Regions from separate parts of the Homo sapiens genome. Here regions 1, 2, 3, 4, 5 and 7 are each linked to region 6. The links are contacts of gene promoters, found by promoter capture Hi-C in blood cells and fetal thymus (Javierre and others, 2016). All regions are on one chromosome and are shown on one strand. The core of a region is centred on a gene start or on the middle of the fragment in contact, and the rest is flanking DNA. Distances in the headings are between cores, read along the strand shown. Region 1 has its middle 6.8 kb from the start of OR9A2. Region 2 holds the start of OR2F2 (olfactory receptor family 2 subfamily F member 2). Region 3 overlaps LOC105375544 (a long non-coding RNA gene). Region 4 has its middle 27 kb from the start of OR9A2. Region 5 has its middle 9.2 kb from the start of OR6V1. Region 6 holds the start of TAS2R60 (taste 2 receptor member 60). Region 7 overlaps LOC112267988 (a long non-coding RNA gene).

Region 1 (2,782 bases), core at 155-2,654, 420 kb before region 6:
TCAGCTCCATTATAATCTTATAGAACCACCATCTTACATGCAGTCCATCATTGACTGATATATTGTTATATAGTGCATGACTATAAACAAATTGATAACCAAATTACAATAATAATCCCCTGGAAGTGAGATAACAGTATCCATAGTGATACAATATAATATCTAAAATGTGTAGTTTTCAACAAAAAATTACAAGATATGCAAAGAAACAGGAAAGTGTGACTCATACACAGGAGGAAAAGCTAACAATAGAAACTGTATGTGAGAGGGACCAGATGGCATATTTAACATTTAAATTCAAAGTAGACATTATAAATATGTTCAGAGAATTAAAGGAAATGATTTTATTTAAAAAGTAAAGAAAAGTATGATGATAATGTTTCTCTGAGTAGAGAATATCAACAAAAATATCAAAATGATAAAAATGGCCACATGGAGATTCTAGAGTCTGAAAGTACAATAAGTAAAAAATTAACCAGAGGAGCACAACTGTATTTTGTAACTAATGGAAGAAATAATGATTAAACTTCAAGATAGGTCAATAGAAATCACGCAATCCAAAGATCAGAGACAAAAAAGAAATACAGAAAAATGAAAAAGTGTCAGAGAAATATGGGATACCACTAAGTGTACCAATATACATGTAATGGAAGTACCAGAAGGATAGGAGAGATACAGAAGAACGTAAAAAATATTTGAAGAAATCATGGTTGAAAACTTCTCAAATTCGATGAAAAATATTAATCTACTCACCCACAAAGGTCAATAGACTTCTAGTAGAATAAACACAAAGAGATCTACAGTAGACAAATAATAGTAAAATCTCTGAGAAACAAGGAAAAAAATCTTCAAAGCAACAAGAGAAAGTGTCTTCTCACATCTAATGGAACATCTCACATCTAATGGAATCAGTAAGATTAACAGCTGACTTCTCATCAGAAACAGTTGAGACCAGAAGGGAACAGGATGACATATTCCAAGTGGTGAAAGAAAAAACAAGGTCAACCACAAATCCTATAGCTGGCAAAATTATCTTTCAAAAATTAAGGCAGAAGAAAGAAATTCTGAGATAAACTAAATGAGAGAATTTGTTGCTAGCAGACCAAACTTACAAGAAATACTAAAGGAATTTCTGCAGACTAAAAGCAAGTGACATCAGACAGTGTTTATAATCCACATAAATAAAATAAAAAGCATTGATAAAAGTAAGTTTTTATGGTAAGTAATTATAAGGAATATATAGTAAGTAATTATAAAAGAAAGCATAAATGCATGTTTATTCTCTTCTTTTAACTAGTTTAAAAAAACAGTTACATAAGACAATAAGTATATACCTTATTTGTGAATGGAAAACATAAAGAAATGTAATAGATTTACCAAAAATAGCACAAAAGAGTTAGCTAGGAGCAGAACAGTTTTGGAGTAATGAAATGAGATCAGATGTAAATGTGAATCTGAGAAACAAATGAAGATAACCAGAAAAAATAAATAAGGTTAACATTACAAATGCTAGAAATATGCAAACGTTCTCCTTTCTTCTCCCATCTCCTTTAAAATTATAAGTAACAATTATAACAATATATTGTTAAGTTTGTAAGTAGGTGAACTATGTATTACAACAATAACAGAACAAAAGGAGGAAAAAGAGAATAGAGCTATATAGGAGTAATGCTCCTATATCTCACTGGCATTGTTAGTATAAATCTGAAGCCAATCTGATAAGATATATATGTTAAGCTCTAGAGCATTCATTTAAAATACAATTTAAAAATCAACAAAGGATTTAAAATGTTATACAGTGATCCCTCAGTATCTGTGGGTGCTTGGTTTCAAACCAAGGTTCCAAAAGAGGAACCCCACAGATACAAAAATTCACAGATGCTCAAGTTCTTTATATAAAATTGTATACTATTTGCATATAACCTACATACATCATCCTGTATACATTAAATCATTTTAGATTACTTATAATACCTAATACAAGGTAAATAGTTGTTATTCTATATTGTTTAGGAAATCATGATTTTTAAAAAGCATGTACATGTTCAGTACATACACAACCAACCTTTTTTTCCCAAATATTTTTTATCTGCAGTTGGTTGAATCCAAGATGAAGAATCCATGGATATGAAGGGTTGACTGCCATAGAAAAAATATTCACTTAATGCAAACATAATATGTGTAATGAAAACGTTAAATGATGTTGTTGAAAAGGTGGACAACATGCATAAACAAGAAAAGGTTTCTGATAGACAGCTTAAAACTATAAGAAAGAATATAATGGAAATGTTATAAATAAAACCACGATATGGGAGATGAGGAATTATTTTCACAGGTTCATTGGTAGATTCAACATAGCTGAAGAAAGAATTAACAAACTTAAAAATAGGCCACAGTGTATGCATAGTACAAGTTTCCTAGGTTTCCTACTGCTATGGTTTGCACGTCCCTTTCAAAACTCATGTTGAACTTTGGTGGCCATTGTAATAGTGTTGAGAGGTGGAACTTTTAAGAGGTAATTAGGTTATGAGGGTTATGCTCTCAGGGATAAATTAATGTCATTATTGGGGGAGTGGATTCATTTTCATGAGCATGAATAAATTCGTGTGAGGGCAAGAGAGTTCAGCCTCTCTTGCTCTCTCTCCCTCTTGCATTTCTGCCTTCCACCATGGAATGACACAGCATGCAGGCCCTTGGCAATGCCAGCACCATGCCTTTGAACTTCTCAGCCTCTGAAATCATGAGCCAAATAAACTTCTTTTCTTTATAAATTACTTAGCCT
Region 2 (2,959 bases), core at 460-2,959, 490 kb after region 6:
GTTTCTTTTGGAGGTGTCATAACTCCCCAGTGCTTTGTAATCCTTGTGTCTTTGCATTGTTATCTTTTCATTTGAAGAGATACCCCCTCCTTCTGGCCTTTACAGGTGTTCTTTGGCAGGGCTAGACCTATACTATTTAGTGTAGCCTGTAATTCTTCAAGGGCCAGCTGGTAATGGCCCTGGGCAAGCAAAGCTAACTGTGGATTTTCTACCTGCCTGGGATGCTGTCTTTGCTCTGATATTGGCTGGGGCTATTGACTGGGCCCTGCTGTCTGGCAAGACCACTGGCTGAGCTCTGTTATCACACAGAGCTACTGACTGCGTACTGCAATGGCTTCTGGTCAGACTAGTCACAGAATTTATTCCCTGGCTGGAAAATTATGCTTTCTGGGATTTGCAGTTGGGCAGGGCTGTAGGCTGAACTCCAAAGTTAGGAGAAGTTGCTGCTTAGAATGATTGAGGCCAGAGGCTACACTCAGAAAAACACAATTGATGGTTGCTTCCCTGTTAAGGTGGAGCTTCCTTGTAGGGTTTCTTCCCTTTAAGATGGGCTTTTGGCTGAATTGAGTTTGACTTCCCAGGTCAAACAGTTCTAGCCCTCATGCTTCTCTGAAAGGCATGTAGATGTCCTTGATGGGGCCTTTTAGCTGAGTAGAGCCATGGATTGACTTCCTGGGTTAAGCAGGTCTACCTCATGTGTGTTTCTGAAATGGGTGGAGGTGTGTATCTCCTTGTCTTGGCAGAGGTCACTGGTGTGGGCTCTGAGACTGGACATGGGGACTAGCTATCTAAGGCCTCAAGCTAGGTTGTACTTCCCACCATGCTTCTGAAGATGACCAGCTTAGCTTTGTAAATGAACTATGAAGTTGACTAGTGTCTCAGATTGGGCACCACAGCTAGCAAGAACACAGAGGTAATGCCATGATCTGTGTGCTGGTCACTAAGACCTCTGCCTCCTTTCTTTGTTTTTACTTGACACCAGGTAGTCTAGCTATGCTGTTACCCCCAGTGTTCTCCATGAGATAAGCCCAGAGTGGGATTTCTGAGAAGCATCTTGGAAAACTAGAGATGCTGAATGACTGCCTCTAGTTTTCCTTTCCTCCTGTAAAAACCATGGGCCCAGGAAAACCCTCTTTGTCTGGTGTTGTGTTGACTTTGGCAGGAGGCAAGGTGGCAGGGTTGAAGTGAAACTATGCTTCTTAGCCTTCTAATTCAATTTTCATTCCACGTACCTTGTGGTTGTCTCATGTTAGTGTCCAAGTAGTGGAGTTTTAAAAGAGATATTCTGGTCTGGGGATAGTTGCTAGTTGAATGTTCTGTGGAGAAGAGTAGAGCCTGGGACTTTCTATTCTTCCTTTTTGCTGACATCATCAGAAAACAAACTCCCTGCCCTGGATACTGAGGTAAGCTAGTAAAGAGGTAAAGCTTCCAAAAATTGCACTGCATTATCTACAGGCTTTAACTGGCTTATTTGAGTCCACATCATGTCCTTATGAAAGCACTACTGTCTCTCTAATGCAAAGTAAATATAGTGTATGTTGGAAACAAGCCTGTCATCTTGGCCTTGTGAATTATCTAAAATATTTGGCCAAGGCTGGAATGTCGTATACAGTATGCATTCCTAAGAAGTTATTCTTATGATTCTTTGATTCAACAGCTTCTGTTTTTTTCTGACTCTTTCTACAGATTAATATTCCTCACATTTTTAAATGGAAATAGATAACCAGACGTGGGTGAGAGAATTTATTCTCCTTGGCTTATCCAGTGACTGGTGCACTCAGATATCCCTGTTTTCCCTGTTCTTGGTCACATACCTCATGACAGTGCTGGGGAACTGTCTCATTGTCCTTCTGATCAGACTGGACAGCCGACTCCACACTCCCATGTATTTCTTTCTCACCAACCTCTCCCTTGTCGATGTCTCCTATGCCACAAGCGTAGTCCCCCAGCTGCTGGCACATTTTCTTGCAGAACATAAAGCCATCCCATTCCAGAGCTGTGCAGCCCAGTTATTTTTCTCCCTGGCCTTGGGTGGGATTGAGTTTGTTCTCCTGGCAGTGATGGCCTATGACCGCCATGTGGCTGTGTCTGACCGCCTGCGATACTCGGCCATCATGCATGGAGGGCTGTGTGCTAGGTTGGCCATCACATCCTGGGTCAGTGGCTCCATCAACTCTCTTGTGCAGACTGCTATCACCTTTCAGCTGCCCATGTGCACTAACAAGTTTATTGATCACATATCCTGTGAACTCCTAGCTGTGGTCAGGCTGGCTTGTGTGGACACCTCCTCCAATGAGGCTGCCATCATGGTGTCTAGCATTGTTCTTCTGATGACACCTTTCTGCCTGGTTCTGTTGTCCTACATCCGGATCATCTCCACCATCCTAAAGATCCAGTCCAGAGAAGGAAGAAAGAAAGCCTTCCACACGTGTGCCTCTCACCTCACGGTGGTTGCCCTGTGCTACGGCACAACGATTTTCACTTACATCCAGCCCCACTCTGGTCCCTCAGTCCTTCAAGAGAAGCTGATCTCTGTCTTCTATGCCATTGTTATGCCTCTGCTGAACCCTGTGATTTATAGTCTAAGGAATAAAGAGGTGAAGGGGGCCTGGCATAAACTATTAGAGAAATTCTCTGGGTTAACATCCAAGCTGGGAACTTGACTCATGAACATTACTTTAAGAAGAAGCTTTGCCTCATTTTTCTCCACCCAGCTCAGATATGGCAGGGATAAACTATGTTGCTCTGGCAACCGGGAAGGAGATGATGTAACATGTACTGGGGATGTTATGTAGGAGGCTGAGTGGTTGAGTTGGATGGGGTGTGGGATGTGGGGATAATTTTATATCCCAGCAGTATGATTAGTGGAGTTAGCTACTGCTGTAACAGAACCTTCCACAATTTCTCAATCTCCACTCTTATGTTCTGATAAAAACTGAAAAAAAGTACTACTTACTGT
Region 3 (2,908 bases), core at 203-2,702, 400 kb before region 6:
ACCGCGCCCGGCTAATTTTTTGTATTTTTAGTAGAGACGGGGTTTCACCGTGTTAGCCAAGATGGTCTCGATCTCCTGACCTTGTGATCCGCCCGCCTCGGCCTCCCAAAGTGCTGGGATTATAGGCGTGAGCCACCGCGCCCAGCCATGGAGCTAGTTTTCAAGCTTTCTTCTTAATGGTGACCTGAGCCTCTCAGTCCAACATGAGGACTCTCCACTCATGACTCTTTGGATGGAACTCCTCCACAAAGCTAACATTTTTGTCTGAATCAGTTCTCTCTAGATAACATCATGGGCCATTACAGTCCACACCAGATCTAGTACATAAACTTATCCTAGATTAATGATTTTACAAGTGAGTAGAAGTGTTTGCTGAATATCCTTAAGCTCAAGGCCATTCCATGTCTATGTTTGACTTTCCCACATAAGTATACTCGGACACAGGTAAGAGAAGTCATCATGGCCCAGAGAAAGAAAAGGACATTCTGGCAAACTAGTAGAACAGATAGGGTTATTACCTATCCACTATATAGGGTTGCATTAATAATGTATGTTATTAGAGATAGGATTATTACCCCAGTGGCAGAGACATTACCCACAAAACAGGAAATGAGAAGGAACAAACCTTACTGACCTGCCACAAAACTTCCTAACTGACCTTCACATCTACCCTCGCTTCCCTCTGTCTACTCTGTTCTCCCCATAGCAGCCTGCGTGATCCTTTAAAACACAGACTAGATCAGGTCTCTCCCCGGATTAAAACCTTTCTCTCTGCCATTTGGTTAAAGTCCTGAGACCTGTGAGGCTCTGCATGATTTCTAGAAATACCTTTCTCTAATGTCATCTTGTGTCACTCCTCTGCTCAGTGACACTGACATCCTTTGTGCTCCTGTAATGGCACGCTGCTCCATCTCTCAGAGTGCTCATTGTGATTCCCACCATGCTGTGCCTAGTTAGCACCAGATACCAGTTAATGATTACTCCTATAGATGCTTCCCATAACCTCACAGACATATCCATGTTCAGGTTCCCTGCCAGGGGCTTTCCAGATATTACAGTAAATGCTGCAGTGCGCTGCCCGGACTCCCATTCAGAACCAAGATGCTAATTACCCCCAAATTGCTCCCAATCAAAGAGAAACACCTTCCCCAAGATTATAGCCCTTCCTCTAAGGTAGCCTGCATCCAATGGCCTATGGATGCAGAAGTATAATGCCCAGGCCCCAAGTTTCTGTTCAGGACAACTCTGGGCACAATTCAGGACAACTCTGGAAAGCCGTCCTAGCTCAGAGCTCCCCGTAGGATTTAAGCCTCTGTTGTGACCTCATCACAGGTCTGTCCAAACATCTTCTCCCTCATCACTCCCAGATCTAAGACAACCACGTAGTTTCTTGCTCAAAACAACTCACTATTTTGTAAGTGTGTGTGTGTGTGTGTGTGTGTGTGTGTGTGTTTACCTGGTTTTATAGCGTATGGTAACATCGGTCTTCATCAAATATGCTCCATAGTGGGGAGACCATGTCCACTCTGTTTACTGCTGTATCTTCAGTACATTGTCTAAAAAATAACAGTTATTCAAAAACAATTCTTATTAAAGTTTGTTTTTTTAATTTACAGTGAGATTGAGTTCTTTTCATGTTTAAAAAATCATTTGCAGTTTTCTTTAATGAATGTACAGGTTTGTAAGAGAACATTTTGCATAAATCAAACAAATCTTTATTTCATGTTTCTGTTTTTATGTTTTGTTTCTATCTTGCATAAATATTTCATCCTTAGGCAGTTACACTTAACAGTCTTTTAGACTCCCGGGATCCGTGTTTTCCTTTGAAAAGCCTATGTTCATACTCCAAGGAAATTAAAAACAAACCAAAAAATCCCATTTTTTACTTTTTACATTTAAGTCTGTTTGAGCCATCGGGAATTTATTATTTTTTGGAAGCATAAGGTATAGATCCAGGGTTTTGGTTTTTCCAGATATTCTGTGAATGTAATACATATTTCTAGGACAAAGGGAAGGTGGTGACAAGGAAGGGAGAAGAGAGAGAGAGCCCCCAAAAAACAAACTTAGAGGCCTGCCATGGCAAAAAAAAAATACCTCCTCCTCTATCTGGGTTGGGACACAGAGGGCATCCATATTTGGATGTGGAGAAACAAGAGATTAGAATGACTATGATATTAATAAGGGCCAAAGAATATCAGCAATGGAAAGATAATGTTTTCCAACACTTCGTTTTACATATTGTAAGCCTGAAACTCAGAAATCGAGTGACTTGTTAAGGTCATGCTGCAGTTTACTAGCTGAGTTGACATGAGTGACCGGGAACTCCTAGACCACCCTTCTACAGGAGGCAGTCAGCTGTTGTCAGCAGGGAATGAAGCACCAGTAGGTTGAGTGGAGTGACCTTCAAGAATCCTGGCAACCCTGAGATTCTGAGACTCACAAATGTGCTTTTGAAGATCAGCAGTCTTATAATCAAAGACAGATGCTTTAAGGTGAATAAGTTACATACTGGAACACAGTAAAAGCTCAATAAATACCTCAGCAATGAGTGTGGCATGTCCTTATCAATAATGATAAGTAAATGTGCCTCTGGACATGATGAAGAGGATCCATGAGCGTAAGTGTGCAGTTTATGACAACGTCAGTGTCTGGGATGGTTGCTGGAGTGCCAGGGAGACACAGCCCCTTGGGACTGAGCAGTGGAGAAAGGGGGAAGGGGACCTCACAGCTGGGGATCCTGAAGCTTCAGACTCTCCTCCATCCTGTAACACTGGGATAGTGAGGCCAGACAGCAGGAAAGGGCTGGAGAAGAGCATTGCTAAACAAACTTAGCTTGCTCTTGTCAGCTTACTAACATCTACCATGCTCTTCTATACCCCAAGACGACCTGTACTAGTGTGTTACATAA
Region 4 (3,205 bases), core at 664-3,163, 440 kb before region 6:
TTCCTTCCGCCTCGGCCTCCCAAACTGCTGGAATTATAGGCGTGAGCCACTGCACCCAGCCAAGTTGAATTATTTTAAAGCAAAAGATATATATGTTTCCAACAAGGGATATATGTGTTTCCAACAAGGGTGTATGTGTCCTTTTGTACATATCTCCGCACCCTCGCATCCTCGTGTAAGTACATTTAGAAAAACAATTCCTGGAAATGGATAGCTGGGTCAAAGAGTATGCCAGCAATAGTCCTAATCACTCTGTTAAATGGTTAATCATTATGTTACCACCTCTTTTATTCTAACCTGTCCTAGATTAATGACTGCTACAATTCCTCTCATTTATTTGCTAAAACATATTACCCATTCTTTAAATTTTGACTGTGATTGTTGGAGTCATTCCACTGTAGAAAAGTTAGAAGTTTCTCCTGAGCTCTTATAAAGTTGTTTTCTTGTACAAGAATAATTTTCCTGACTCCCTTTTTGCATATCTACTGCCAATTTTTGATACTGATGTTTTCATTTGTGTTCAATAGAAAAAGAAATCTCTGACCAATTACTCTGGCATTTGGTGATATCTTCAGTTAAGCATTTAAAAATATACTCCAAAACACCACCAACCTGAAATGTGTTATTCCATTTTCCAGAGACTCTAAGTTTTAGACTTAATCATCAAAAGTTTTTATATTTTATTTAAATGTTAGGCATGAAAATCAGTCTTAATAGATTCTATTGAGCATACCTGAATGTCTTCTTGGTTTCTCAAGACGATCATTAGGATGCCACTGTCATATATACATGATCTCAGAGAAGGTTTGCTCCTGCACTAAATGAACAAAAATGTCTTAAGTCCTTTGGTCAGCTTTGTACAGTTGGTTTTTAATTTCTCTCAACATGTCTCTTGATTGAGAGCTAACACACTGCTTGTTGTTTTCAGTAGACCTGTCTTTTCTTATCTCCTTTCTATGAGTAAATCATTTTATCAAGCTTATTTCCAATAAATAAACAAACAGATAAAAGGGACTCTAACAGACTTCCTGTGAGTAAAGTGGCTAAGCTTTATGTGGTTCATGGACTTTGTAACATTTATTTTGTCTGCTTGCTGGTTTATTTTGCTATTTTCTGATTCCTAGCTATGTTCTAGAAAGACTACATAGTTGAGTTTTGGATTAATAAGATATATATGTTAATTATAACACTTAGAGAATCAGGATCATATAGTACCCCAAATACAGATGTTTTTAAAAGTGCCAGAATATCAAAAGAAGATATAACTATATTCAAATATTAAAGCATCAAAGCATAATATACTTCCATGGTTCAAAATTTTAAAGGATACTTTGAAACACTTTTCTATCTGATCCTCCTCCCTCAAGGCAACCAATGTTATCACTTTCTTCTGTGTCTTTACAGAGGTAATTTTAAGCATATACGTCTGCATAAGCAAATGCATACAAGCACATTTTCTTTTTGTACAAATGGTAGTATATCGAACATATGTCCTATGCAGTACAGATCATTGTATATTTATACATAAGACATTCTTGGTTCTTGTTTCCTTTTTTAATAACTCCAGATTATTCCACCAAATGGAATACATACATTATTTCCCTGTACACAATATCTAAATGACAATTTCTAGAAGAGGAATTGCTAGGCCAAAGCGTAAAAGCATTTGTCACTTTAATATATATTACATAATTGCCCTTCATGCAGGCTATTACATTTTACACTACCTATTTTCACGCAGTGTACTATAAAACTTTTTGACATTTGCCAGTTTAATAACTGAAAATAGTATCTTAATATGGCTTTAATTTTTATTGTTCTCCTTATGAATGAAGATGAAAATATTCTCACATGTGCTTATCTTTTGCCCATTTTTCTGCTGAGTAGTTTTATTTTTTTCTTATAGGAGCTTTTTACACATGATGCAAACTAACCTTTTGTGATATGAGTTGAAATTGTTTTCTGGTGTTTTCGTGTGTCTGTTTACCTTGGGGTAGTATTAACCATAGCAAATTTTTAAAAAATTCTTCATAAAGTCAATCTTCTATGACATCTGTGTTTTAAGTCATCCTAAGAAAGGTCTTACCCATTTTTATAAACATTCTTTTATTTCTTATGTTAAATCTATGTTTTTTTTTTACATTTAAATATTTGACCCATTTTAAACAGCCTGGTATGACATAGGCAGTAATGGAATTAACTTTTGTTTTTTAGGTAGCTGCTAGTTTGTTTGACCATTTATTGAATAATTCATTTTTTCCCAATGATAGTACTGTTTACATTATAGCTATATAGTCTGTTTTACAGATGTAGTTATTCCTCATTATGCTTCTATTTCAGAATGTTTTTGAAAATTTTTTGCTTGTTTATTTTTCCATAATAAAAAGTTTAATCTAAGCTGGGCACGATGGCTCACATGTGTAATCCCAGCTATTCAGGCGGCTGAGGTGGGAGGATCACTTGAGTCCAGCAGTTCAAGTCTGTAGTGAGCTATGATCATGCCACTACACTCCAGCCTGGCTGACAGAGCAAGACTCTGTCTCTAAAAATATAAATGAATGAAATAATGCATGAATAAAATGTAATCTGCTTCTCTAGATTTAAAAAATACTATTGATTTTTAAATTGTGATTGTATCATTTTTATGGATACACTTAGAGGAGAATTGATATCTTTGTATTGTTTACTCCACCTTTCCATTTGCTCAAATCTACTTTTGTGTCTTTCAGGAGCATTTTTTTAAATGTCAATCTAGTTTAAATGTAAATCTTTACTTGTTAAGCTTATTCCTAATAATGTTATATTTCTTTGCTTTTGCTTTTGTAAATGAGGTTCTTTCCTTCCATTATATTTTCTAACTTAATGTGTTTTATATGTGAAGTCTTTTGACTCTCAATATAAATTTTGTGCCCAGCCACATTGGTTTTTTACTTTATTTTGTTGAGATTTCCAGATAAACAAATTATTTAAAATTCATGTTAATCTTTTTTTCTCCTCCTTTTTAACATCTTGGCCCTGCATTTTTTTTCTCTTGTCTAATTGCATAGGCTAACATGCCAGAAATTTTAATTAGTTTACATAGAGATGCAGTACATAAATTTAAATTGAAGATCTGTCATTACATAAGACAAAGGGTATGTGTGTTATTATTTATTTTAGATTGGTCCATCCTCTCACCAGGAGCTCAGGCAGCTGTTAAACTCTG
Region 5 (3,235 bases), core at 378-2,877, 380 kb before region 6:
TTCCATGAAGCTGTGGTTTACTTACATCATGTCTTAAACCTGAGGAGCCTTTTATAACAGCTACTTTGATTTGGAACTGGAATCCCAAGATTCCTCCCAGCAAGTTGCAAGATTTTTAAAAAATTATTTTTTCGTTTCTATCTATCCAGGAGTCTCATTTGCCATTGTGCACATTGACATCCCTGCCACATTAAGACAAATGTCTGGAACCAATATATCTAGACATCTCTAGGTGACATCCACATAGAATTCTAACAGTGAGTCAGAGGCTGGGCCATTGATTGAAGTCACTCAAGAAGCTTAAAGTCAGACTAGGATGAGAGTCTTCAGGGTCTTCATCCTGGTTACTACTGTCTCCGGAAATGGGACCTGGGATAAAGGTCACTAAGGAATGATGGATCCAACAATAGCAAATGTGTCCCCAAATTCCCTCTTCCAATGCCCTTCACGTTGTTGAGATTGGAACAAGGCCTTTCTTATACAATTTATTGTTTGAAAACTCTACCAGCAAATTGTCTAGCTCAGCGTTACTCAGATATTAACGTGCATAGGAATCACCCGGGGATCTGCAAAAATGCAGATTCTGATTTAGGAGGTCTCAGGTGGGGCCTGAGATTCTGCATCTCCAATAAGCTCCCAGGAGATGCCAGTGCTGTTTCAAGCATCACACTTTGAAGAGCAAAGAACCACAGGCAAGGCTGTGGGGCAGGTCAGGCTGCATGATGCTGGATTCCATGGGGTGATTGCTATGAAGGCCCAAAGCTAGTCAGACCGTCCCCAAAACTGACCAGAGACCCCACTTCCAAGGAAATCCTATGAAAAACAGGAGATAGCCCGCTATAGGCTATTGATTATTTTTAGTTTTTTAAGAGGGGGAATGTGCAGAGAAGAGCGAGTAGCAGGAAGGAGTCCCTGGGGAGGACACTGAGTGACTCCTGTGCTGATTATTTTAGGAGGAGAAGCTGAGGAAAAGTATCTGCATCTCAGAAGGAGATAATTACTTTCCACTTAGCTCTTCAGTTTTTCAGGAAGTTTGCAAGGAGGGCAAGTAATTAGTCTCTTGGGAGGTGAAAGAGACAAGTTCTCAGGATGAAAAACTTTTCCCTGCTGGTCTTTACAGCAGAATCAGAAGTATCTGCCCACTTTTGGCAAGGCCCACAAATGCAAAAATGTACTGTGGGGGTTGAAAAAGAAAAAGAGCTATGTTAGAGATCAAGCTAAATGGCAGAGACAGTAAGACAGTGGTGCCTCCAAGCTCTGTGTCCTGGAAGGCTTCCCCTGAAACCATTCTTCATAGTCTTGGCCCTGTGGGGTGGCTCCCACACTGTGACACCACACTGCAAGTTATGAGCAGGGCCTCTCCTCTAGGGATCCTGTGGACAGAACCAGCTTCAGAAATGAGAGGAAGTTTGCATCTACTCTTTGCCCCGCTTTGCTAATCCTAGCCCAGCCCAGCTGAGACTCAGTCTAGTAAAAGAAACCAGACCCGGATCTCTTCCTGCCCCTACCATCTTCCCATGACTTCTCACGCCATCCAGATTTCCGAGGAATGCCTCTCTTATCAGCCCTCCCACCACGTTACCTACAACACCAGTCCCACTCCGTTTACTCCTTCTCATCTGATTTCTACCACCTTTGCTTCTACCATCCAGGGGCCCTGGTAATCTGGCCAGGCTGCTCTCAGGAAACCCAGCCTCAGAAGGCCTGGGCAACTGGTCCTTCTTCTGGAACTTGGATCTAAGATTCTGCAGTAGAAGGGAAGTAGTGGCCCCACGGGAAGGGGAAGGCAGCAAGTCTGAGAGTGCAGACGCAGCTCAGCTTTCCCCCACTCTCAAGTGCATGAAAAAGGTAAGGTCTTCATGACTTTCTATAAGAGGGTTGGAGGAGTGGCTCCCAGAGAGCCATTTCTGTGGAAAGGCAAGAGGCTTTGGGGCCAGATGGAAGAAGTGGGCAGCCTGGGTGTGAGGGGTGCTTCCATCCAGGAGCGGTCAGGCCGAGAGAGGGGAGCCAACAGAAGCACATGGCTCCTCCTGTGTTGGGGTGCCAGGCCTCTCTGCTCTTCTTAGAGCACCTCCCATTTTCAGAACTCTATCATAGACCTTGAAGCCAGGTCCTGAAAAGGAAACACATCCAAAATAAAGGAAACTTAAAAGAATGCAAGCAAAACCACAGAGCTAAGAAAGAAAGGTTTTAATAGGACATTTTAATAATAGCTACATTTACTGAGCTCTTACTTAATGTGCCAGACCCTGCACTAAGAGCCTTATTTGTTTGGATTATCTCTTTTAATTAAGACCGTCCCATTGTACTCACTCTGCATTCCCTATCCATTCCTTAACTATCCCAGGTGCACAGAAACTTGCCTTTGAGACATTCTACCAATGTGTGTCCATTAGTTCTCTGCAGTGCAGGAGAAGAAACTTGCATGAAGATGAGGGACCAGGAGAAAATGAGAAAAAAGAGAGTGAGGAGCTCCAGCTTAGGCATGTGGGTGCCCACCTGCAGCAAGTCTACTCCTCGTGACTTGTCAGGTGCTCTCTAGCCCTGTCAAGGGCTCACCCTCTCACCTACAGGCTGCTGGGTCTCCAAGGAAGATCCTTTTAGTCACATCCTCAATGACCTCCTTGACCTTCTCATTCCGGAAGGTGAAGATGAAGGGGTTGAGGAAAGGGGTTACCATTGCAGTCACCATGGCCACCGCCTTGTTGAGGTATGTGGAGTGGCCCTTGCCTGGCCTCACGTAGATGAAGATGGCACTGCCATAGCCCAGAACCACCACTGTGAGGTGAGAGGCACAGGTGGAGAAGGCCTTCTGGCATCCAGAGGAGGAAGGGATGTGCAGCACTGCAGCCACAATGAGGATGTAGGAGAGGATGATAAGCAGCATGGTGGTCAGCACAAAGAGCAGGGACAGGAAGAGGTCCATGCGCTCAATGTGGCGGGTGTCAGAGCAGGCAAGCTTGAGCAGCGGGGCAGAGTCACAGAAGTAGTGGCCGATGATGTTAGGGCCACAGAACCAGAGTCGTGTTTTCTGCAGTGTGGGAGAGACAATGGAGAGGAAACCAACCACCCAACAGGCCACCACCAGCTTCACACACACTGGACCATTCGTGATGGTTGGGTAGCGCAGGGGGTGGCAGATGGCCACGTAGCGATCAAAGGCCATGACCATGAGTATCAGGAAGTTGGCAGAGCCCAGGGAGAAGTAAAAGAAAGACTGGGTTAGGCATTTGGC
Region 6 (2,975 bases), core at 100-2,599:
ATGCTACTTATTATGCCACAGGATGGATGGAATAGAAGATAGCCATTCTAATAAAGTAATTGTCATCATCATCATTGCTCCTTGTCCATATGCAGAGGTTTATAATTTCCAATATATTTACCATATTTATGGTCATATTTATTTGTGACCCATATTTTTTATAGGTGAAGAAAGGGGGGTGTTCAGAGAGGTTAACTGCTTGAGGATCCGTAGTGATTGTGACAAGACTCAAAACTTGGGCTTCTGAGTTCAGCTAGGGATGAAGAAGATGGAGGTGTAACATGTATTGCTAACCATGGCAGAGATTCCTGGTCCTGGAATCAGTTTGGATCTTGGTCTTTCCTCTGTGTAACTGTGACTTTAGGTGGGAGTTGTAATATATAATTTGGGGTCTTATTTCTTTTATCTGTAAGATTATCTTTCATGTCTTCTTTCATTCTAAGCCGAGATTCTAAGACATCTTTGTGAATTAGAACATAGGATACTTTTCATATTTTACAGATGGACAAAATGAGGCGCAGAGGGGCTGACATATCCAGCAACTCACAGTAAGGGGTAAAGTTTGGACTAAAGGCTGTCTCGACTCCTAGCACAGGGCTCATTCTGCCATATCCCATTGGCTTATCGCTACTGGGGGTTCCTCTGTGAAGTGCTATTTTAGAGGCCACCAGTTATCAAATATATATTTTTAAATTTTGAAAAAAGTTGCCTGCCTCATTATGTATAATTGTCTCCAGTGTTCTTTTTTTATGATGATGGTCACTGTGAGTAATAAGACTTGAATTAATCCTTCTCTGTAAAGGTTTGCTCAGTTTTCTCTCTGTCTCAGTTAAAGGGGTCTTGCCATACTACTCCCCGCATAGAGTTGTTGTGAGAACTAAGGAGAGCACTCAGAACAATGCCTGCAACATAACAATCACCCCCCCCCCGTGGATGTGAGCGCTGTCTCAGTAGCGGGTGTGCCCCACGGATGATACTACTGAGCTGGCAGGTGCATGGTCCTGTCATAGGTGTCCGCTTAGAGAAGTATAACCTCCTGTGTAAGGACACTAAATGCCAGGGCCTGATATATTATCCACTTTGATGTTGACATGGGCAGAGAATAGGCAGAAGAGCAGGCAAATTTTTGGGCAGGTATGGGGACTTTGAAAATTGAGCCTTGACAATATTTGCATCTACTCTGAGAAGAAAAAACCTCTCACCCTCCTCTGATAGCCTGCGTCCTCTACTCTGGCCTAGCTTCTGCGCTTGGGGCAGCTGGAGGGACAAACATATCCTACAGGACCTTCCAGAGCAACCCAACAGAGATAGCCCTTGAAGTTTTGGGACCCATCTTGTCCACCAGAGAGATGAATGGAGACCACATGGTTCTAGGATCTTCGGTGACTGACAAGAAGGCCATCATCTTGGTTACCATTTTACTCCTTTTACGCCTGGTAGCAATAGCAGGCAATGGCTTCATCACTGCTGCTCTGGGCGTGGAGTGGGTGCTACGGAGAATGTTGTTGCCTTGTGATAAGTTATTGGTTAGCCTAGGGGCCTCTCGCTTCTGTCTGCAGTCAGTGGTAATGGGTAAGACCATTTATGTTTTCTTGCATCCGATGGCCTTCCCATACAACCCTGTACTGCAGTTTCTAGCTTTCCAGTGGGACTTCCTGAATGCTGCCACCTTATGGTCCTCTACCTGGCTCAGTGTCTTCTATTGTGTGAAAATTGCTACCTTCACCCACCCTGTCTTCTTCTGGCTAAAGCACAAGTTGTCTGGGTGGCTACCATGGATGCTCTTCAGCTCTGTAGGGCTCTCCAGCTTCACCACCATTCTATTTTTCATAGGCAACCACAGAATGTATCAGAACTATTTAAGGAACCATCTACAACCTTGGAATGTCACTGGCGATAGCATACGGAGCTACTGTGAGAAATTCTATCTCTTCCCTCTAAAAATGATTACTTGGACAATGCCCACTGCTGTCTTTTTCATTTGCATGATTTTGCTCATCACATCTCTGGGAAGACACAGGAAGAAGGCTCTCCTTACAACCTCAGGATTCCGAGAGCCCAGTGTGCAGGCACACATAAAGGCTCTGCTGGCTCTCCTCTCTTTTGCCATGCTCTTCATCTCATATTTCCTGTCACTGGTGTTCAGTGCTGCAGGTATTTTTCCACCTCTGGACTTTAAATTCTGGGTGTGGGAGTCAGTGATTTATCTGTGTGCAGCAGTTCACCCCATCATTCTGCTCTTCAGCAACTGCAGGCTGAGAGCTGTGCTGAAGAGTCGTCGTTCCTCAAGGTGTGGGACACCTTGAGCCACAGCTGATGAAAAACTTCAAGGAGATTCTTGTGGAGAAGGCATGGACTCAAAGGGACATAGCTTCTCTCTTTGCCACATTGAATGTTTTCTCTCTGTTGCTACAGTTAATGATTAGAAAAATAACTTCAATGAAATAGGATACAAGGTGAGAGTAAAGGTCCTGAAATATGGGCTAGTGTCATGTTATGTACTCACCAAGTGCATAGTTCATGTGGCCATGGTTCCTGTGGGACCTGATGTGGTCAAAGAATCCAGAAGCCTTTATTTTTCCTGTGATCGATCTCTTCGTATTTAAAATAATCATTCTGGGAACTGGATGCAAAGATCCTCAAACTTCATGCAATATTTTATCTGTTCAATCGAACTGGGGCATGTTTTTGGAACTGCAGTTTTCTCAGGCTTTGTCCTGTGAACCACCTTTCCCTTCTCATCAATTCAAAGTTTTCTGGCCATCTAATGTGGTGCCTCTCTCCTTCTTTCCATGGAAGAGTTTCTGGTGTCTAAACCTTCTACACAGAGCATAGTGTAATTGGTGCATGTGTGTGGCAGTGTGTGTTGCCAGGGATGTGTGTATTCTCCGATGACCTTTGGAGATCCCTCTGAGTGCCAGGGGTCTATGATTTGTATGTGGTTCATGTTCTCTATAATAGCCCAGCCTGTTAGT
Region 7 (3,043 bases), core at 157-2,656, 410 kb after region 6:
ATCAAGTATCTTCTCTTACCACAATGCAATAAAAACTAGAAATGAATACCAAGAGGAACTATGGAACATATACGAATATGTGAAAACTAAAAACAAGTTTTTACAAAACCAGGGCATCAATAAAGAAATTAAAAAGAAAATTTAAAAATTCCTTGAGACAAATAAAAGGAAACATAATGTACCAAGACCTATGGGATACAGCAAAAGCTATTCTAAGAGGGAGTTTATAGCAATAGATGCCTACATCAAAAAAGTATAAGAATCTTTTATAAAAACTTTATGTGGCACCTCAAGGAATGAGAAAAACGAGGGCCAGCTGAACCCTAAACTACTAGAAGAGAAGACTGATAAAGATCAAGCAGAAATAAGTGAAATAGAGCCTGAAAATAATATAAAAATCAGTAGAACAAAAAGTTGGTCCTTTGAAAGATAAACAAATGTTTTAGCTAGACTAACAAAAAAGAGAAGACTCAAATAAATATAATCAGAGCTAAAAAAGGAGATGTCACAGAAATACAAAGGATCATAGAAGACTTTTATGAGCAATTATATGCCAATAAACTGGAAAACCTAAAAGAAATAAATAAATTCCTGGACACATGCAACCTACCAAAGTTGAACTACTATGAAGAAATAAAATACCTACACAGGCCAATAATGTGTAACAAGAATGAATCAGTAATAATAAGTCTCCCGTCAAAGAAAAGCCCAGGAACTGATGACTTTACTGCTAAGTTCTACCAAACATGTAAATAATAATATCACTTCTTTTCAAACTATTCTAAAAAGTTGAAGAGGTGCAAATTCTTCCACACTCATTCTATGAGGCCAACATTATCAAAACCAGACAAGGATAACTTGATAAAAAGAAAACTACAGGCCAATCTCCTTTATCAACATAGATGCAAAAATCTTTAACAAAATATAAGTGAAACAAATTCAACAGCATATTGAAAAAATAATTCACCACAATCAAGTGAGATTCATCCCAGGGATGCAAGGATGGTTTAACATATGTAAATCACAAATGTGATACATCACATTAACAGAATGAAGGACAAAAATGACATAATCATTTTAATAGACAAAGAAAAAAATTTGATAAAATTTAACATCCCTTCATGATAAAAATTCTCAGCAAATGAGATGTAGAAGTAATATACCTCAACACAATAAAGGCCATAAATGAGAAGCTCATAGATAACATCATACTGAAGAAGTTGAAAGCTATTCCTCTATGATCTGCAATAAGACAAGGATGCCGCATTTATCACTTTTGTTGAACATACTACTGGAAATCCAAGCCAGAGCAATTAGGCAAGAGAAATGAAAGGCATCCAAATAGGAAAGGGGGAAGTCAAATTGTCCTTGTTTGCAGATGACATTATCTTATATATAGAAAATCCTAAAGATTCCACAAAAAACTGTTAGAATAAATAAATTCAATAAAGTTGCAGGATACAAACTCAACATGCAAAAATCAGTAGTGTTTCTATATGCCAGTAGCAAGCTACCTAAAAAAAGATATCAAGAAAGCAATCCACTGACAATAGCTATAAAATAAATACCCAGGAATATAGTTAACAAAGGAGGTGAAACATCTTGAGTGGAAACTATAGAATATGGATAAAATAAATTGAAGAGGACACAAATAAATAGAAAGATAATAATGAATTGCAAAAATTAATATTGTCAAAATGTCCATATTATCCAAAGCAATTTACTAATTCAATGCAATCCCTATTCTTCACAGAAATAGAAAAAAAAATCCTAAAACTTCTATGGAACCACAAAAGACCCCAAATAGCCAAAGTAATCCTTAGCAAAAATAAAGCTCGAGGCATCACACTACCTGACTTTAAAATATACTATAAAGCTATAGTAACCAAATCAACATGGTACTGGTATAAAAATAGACACATAGATAACTGAAACAGAATACAGAACAGAAATAAATCCATGCACTTACAGCCAACTGATTTTCAACAAAAGTGTCAGCAACATGCATTAGGAAAAGGAGAGGCTTTTCAATAGATGGCACTGGGAAAACTGAATATCCACATGTAGAAGAATAAAATTAGACCCCTGTCTCTTACCATATGTAAAAATTAGTTCAAAATTGATTAAAAACTTTAATGTAAGACCTGAAACTGTAAGCATCCTAGAAGAAAACATGGGAGAAACAATTCATGACATTGGTCTCGGCAAGAATTTTTTGAATAAGACCTCAAAAGCATACAACAAAAGCAAATATAGAGAAATGGTACTATATTAAACTAAAATGCTTCTGTACAGCAAAGGAAACAGATTGAAGTTAACTTAAGGAATGGGAGAAAACATATGCAAACTATGCATCTGACAAGGGGTTAATGCCTAGAATATATAGAAAAATAACTCAATAGCAGAAAAATAAATAATTCCATTTAAAGATGGGCAAAATGCCTAAATAGACATTTCTCTAAAGAAGACATACTAATGCTTAGCATCACTAATCATCAGGGAAATGCAAATAAAACCATAATGACATATCACCTCAGTCCAGTTAGAATGGCTATTATCAAAAAGACAAAAAATAACAAATGTTGGGGTAGATGTGAAGAAAGAGGAAGTCTCATATGCTGTTGTAAATTAGTCCAGCAATGATGGAAAACAGAATGAAGGTTCCTAAAAAAGTTAAAAAATAGAAGTACCATATGATCCAGAATCCCACTACTGAGTATATATCCAAAGGAAATAAAATCAGTTATGTGGAAGAGATATCTGCATTCCCATGTTTATTGCAGCATTATTCACAGTAGTTGCATGGAATCAACCTAAGTGTCCATCAGTGGATGAATGGATAAAGAAAATGTGGTGTATATATACAATGGAAGACTATTCAACCATAAAAAGAAATTTTGTCATTTGTGGCAACGTAATTGGGCCCAGAGGACATTATGTTAAGTAAAATAAGCCAGGCATGTAAAGACGAATACTGTACAATCTCACACAAAAGTGGATTCTATAATTTAAAAAGTTGATTTAATAGCAGCAGAGCGTAGAA

What was found. The method cuts DNA at HindIII sites, captures the fragments that hold promoters and counts their contacts. A CHiCAGO score of 5 or more calls a contact.
Region 1: a contact is called between a fragment that was not itself captured here and the fragment with the promoter of TAS2R60 in region 6, in 1 of 17 cell types (neutrophils). The highest score is 6.0, in neutrophils.
Region 2: the fragment with the promoter of OR2F2 here is called in contact with the fragment with the promoter of TAS2R60 in region 6 in 5 of 17 cell types (naive CD8 T cells, total CD4 T cells, activated CD4 T cells and 2 more); the score reaches 6.8 in naive CD8 T cells.
Region 3: a contact is called between a fragment that was not itself captured here and the fragment with the promoter of TAS2R60 in region 6, in 1 of 17 cell types (neutrophils). The highest score is 7.2, in neutrophils.
Region 4: a contact is called between a fragment that was not itself captured here and the fragment with the promoter of TAS2R60 in region 6, in 1 of 17 cell types (neutrophils). The highest score is 9.2, in neutrophils.
Region 5: a fragment that was not itself captured here is called in contact with the fragment with the promoter of TAS2R60 in region 6 in 1 of 17 cell types (neutrophils); the score reaches 5.2 in neutrophils.
Region 7: a contact is called between a fragment that was not itself captured here and the fragment with the promoter of TAS2R60 in region 6, in 10 of 17 cell types (neutrophils, megakaryocytes, naive CD4 T cells and 7 more). The highest score is 10.0, in neutrophils.

Annotation. Positions count from the first base shown.
Region 1 is chr7:143,018,902-143,021,683 of GRCh38, forward strand. No RefSeq gene overlaps it. Among named protein-coding and RNA genes, the nearest start is that of OR9A2, 6.8 kb to the right of the region's middle. The HindIII fragment of the contact is 3,835 bases long and covers 1-2,782 here.
Region 2 is chr7:143,933,524-143,936,482 of GRCh38, forward strand. It overlaps OR2F2 (olfactory receptor family 2 subfamily F member 2), which reads left to right and starts at 1,710. Exons shown (of 1, transcript NM_001004685.1): 1 at 1,710-2,663. The coding sequence starts at 1,710. The coding sequence ends at 2,663. RefSeq lists an enhancer at 2,059-2,558. The HindIII fragment of the contact is 1,264 bases long and covers 1,424-2,687 here.
Region 3 is chr7:143,037,936-143,040,843 of GRCh38, forward strand. It overlaps LOC105375544 (a long non-coding RNA gene), which reads right to left. Exons shown (of 2, transcript XR_001745395.1): 1 at 1,457-2,908. Among named protein-coding and RNA genes, the nearest start is that of OR9A2, 12 kb to the left of the region's middle. The HindIII fragment of the contact is 2,578 bases long and covers 164-2,741 here.
Region 4 is chr7:142,998,964-143,002,168 of GRCh38, forward strand. No RefSeq gene overlaps it. Among named protein-coding and RNA genes, the nearest start is that of OR9A2, 27 kb to the right of the region's middle. The HindIII fragment of the contact is 1,734 bases long and covers 1,047-2,780 here.
Region 5 is chr7:143,059,921-143,063,155 of GRCh38, forward strand. It overlaps the pseudogene OR6W1P. Among named protein-coding and RNA genes, the nearest start is that of OR6V1, 9.2 kb to the left of the region's middle. The HindIII fragment of the contact is 2,660 bases long and covers 298-2,957 here.
Region 6 is chr7:143,442,104-143,445,078 of GRCh38, forward strand. TAS2R60 (taste 2 receptor member 60) reads left to right here and starts at 1,350. Exons shown (of 1, transcript NM_177437.1): 1 at 1,350-2,306. The coding sequence starts at 1,350. The coding sequence ends at 2,306. All of the region lies in intron 2 of EPHA1-AS1 (EPHA1 antisense RNA 1), which reads left to right. The HindIII fragment of the contact is 8,585 bases long and covers 1-2,975 here.
Region 7 is chr7:143,847,378-143,850,420 of GRCh38, forward strand. All of the region lies in intron 2 of LOC112267988 (a long non-coding RNA gene), which reads left to right. Among named protein-coding and RNA genes, the nearest start is that of TCAF1, 53 kb to the right of the region's middle. The HindIII fragment of the contact is 4,388 bases long and covers 1-3,043 here.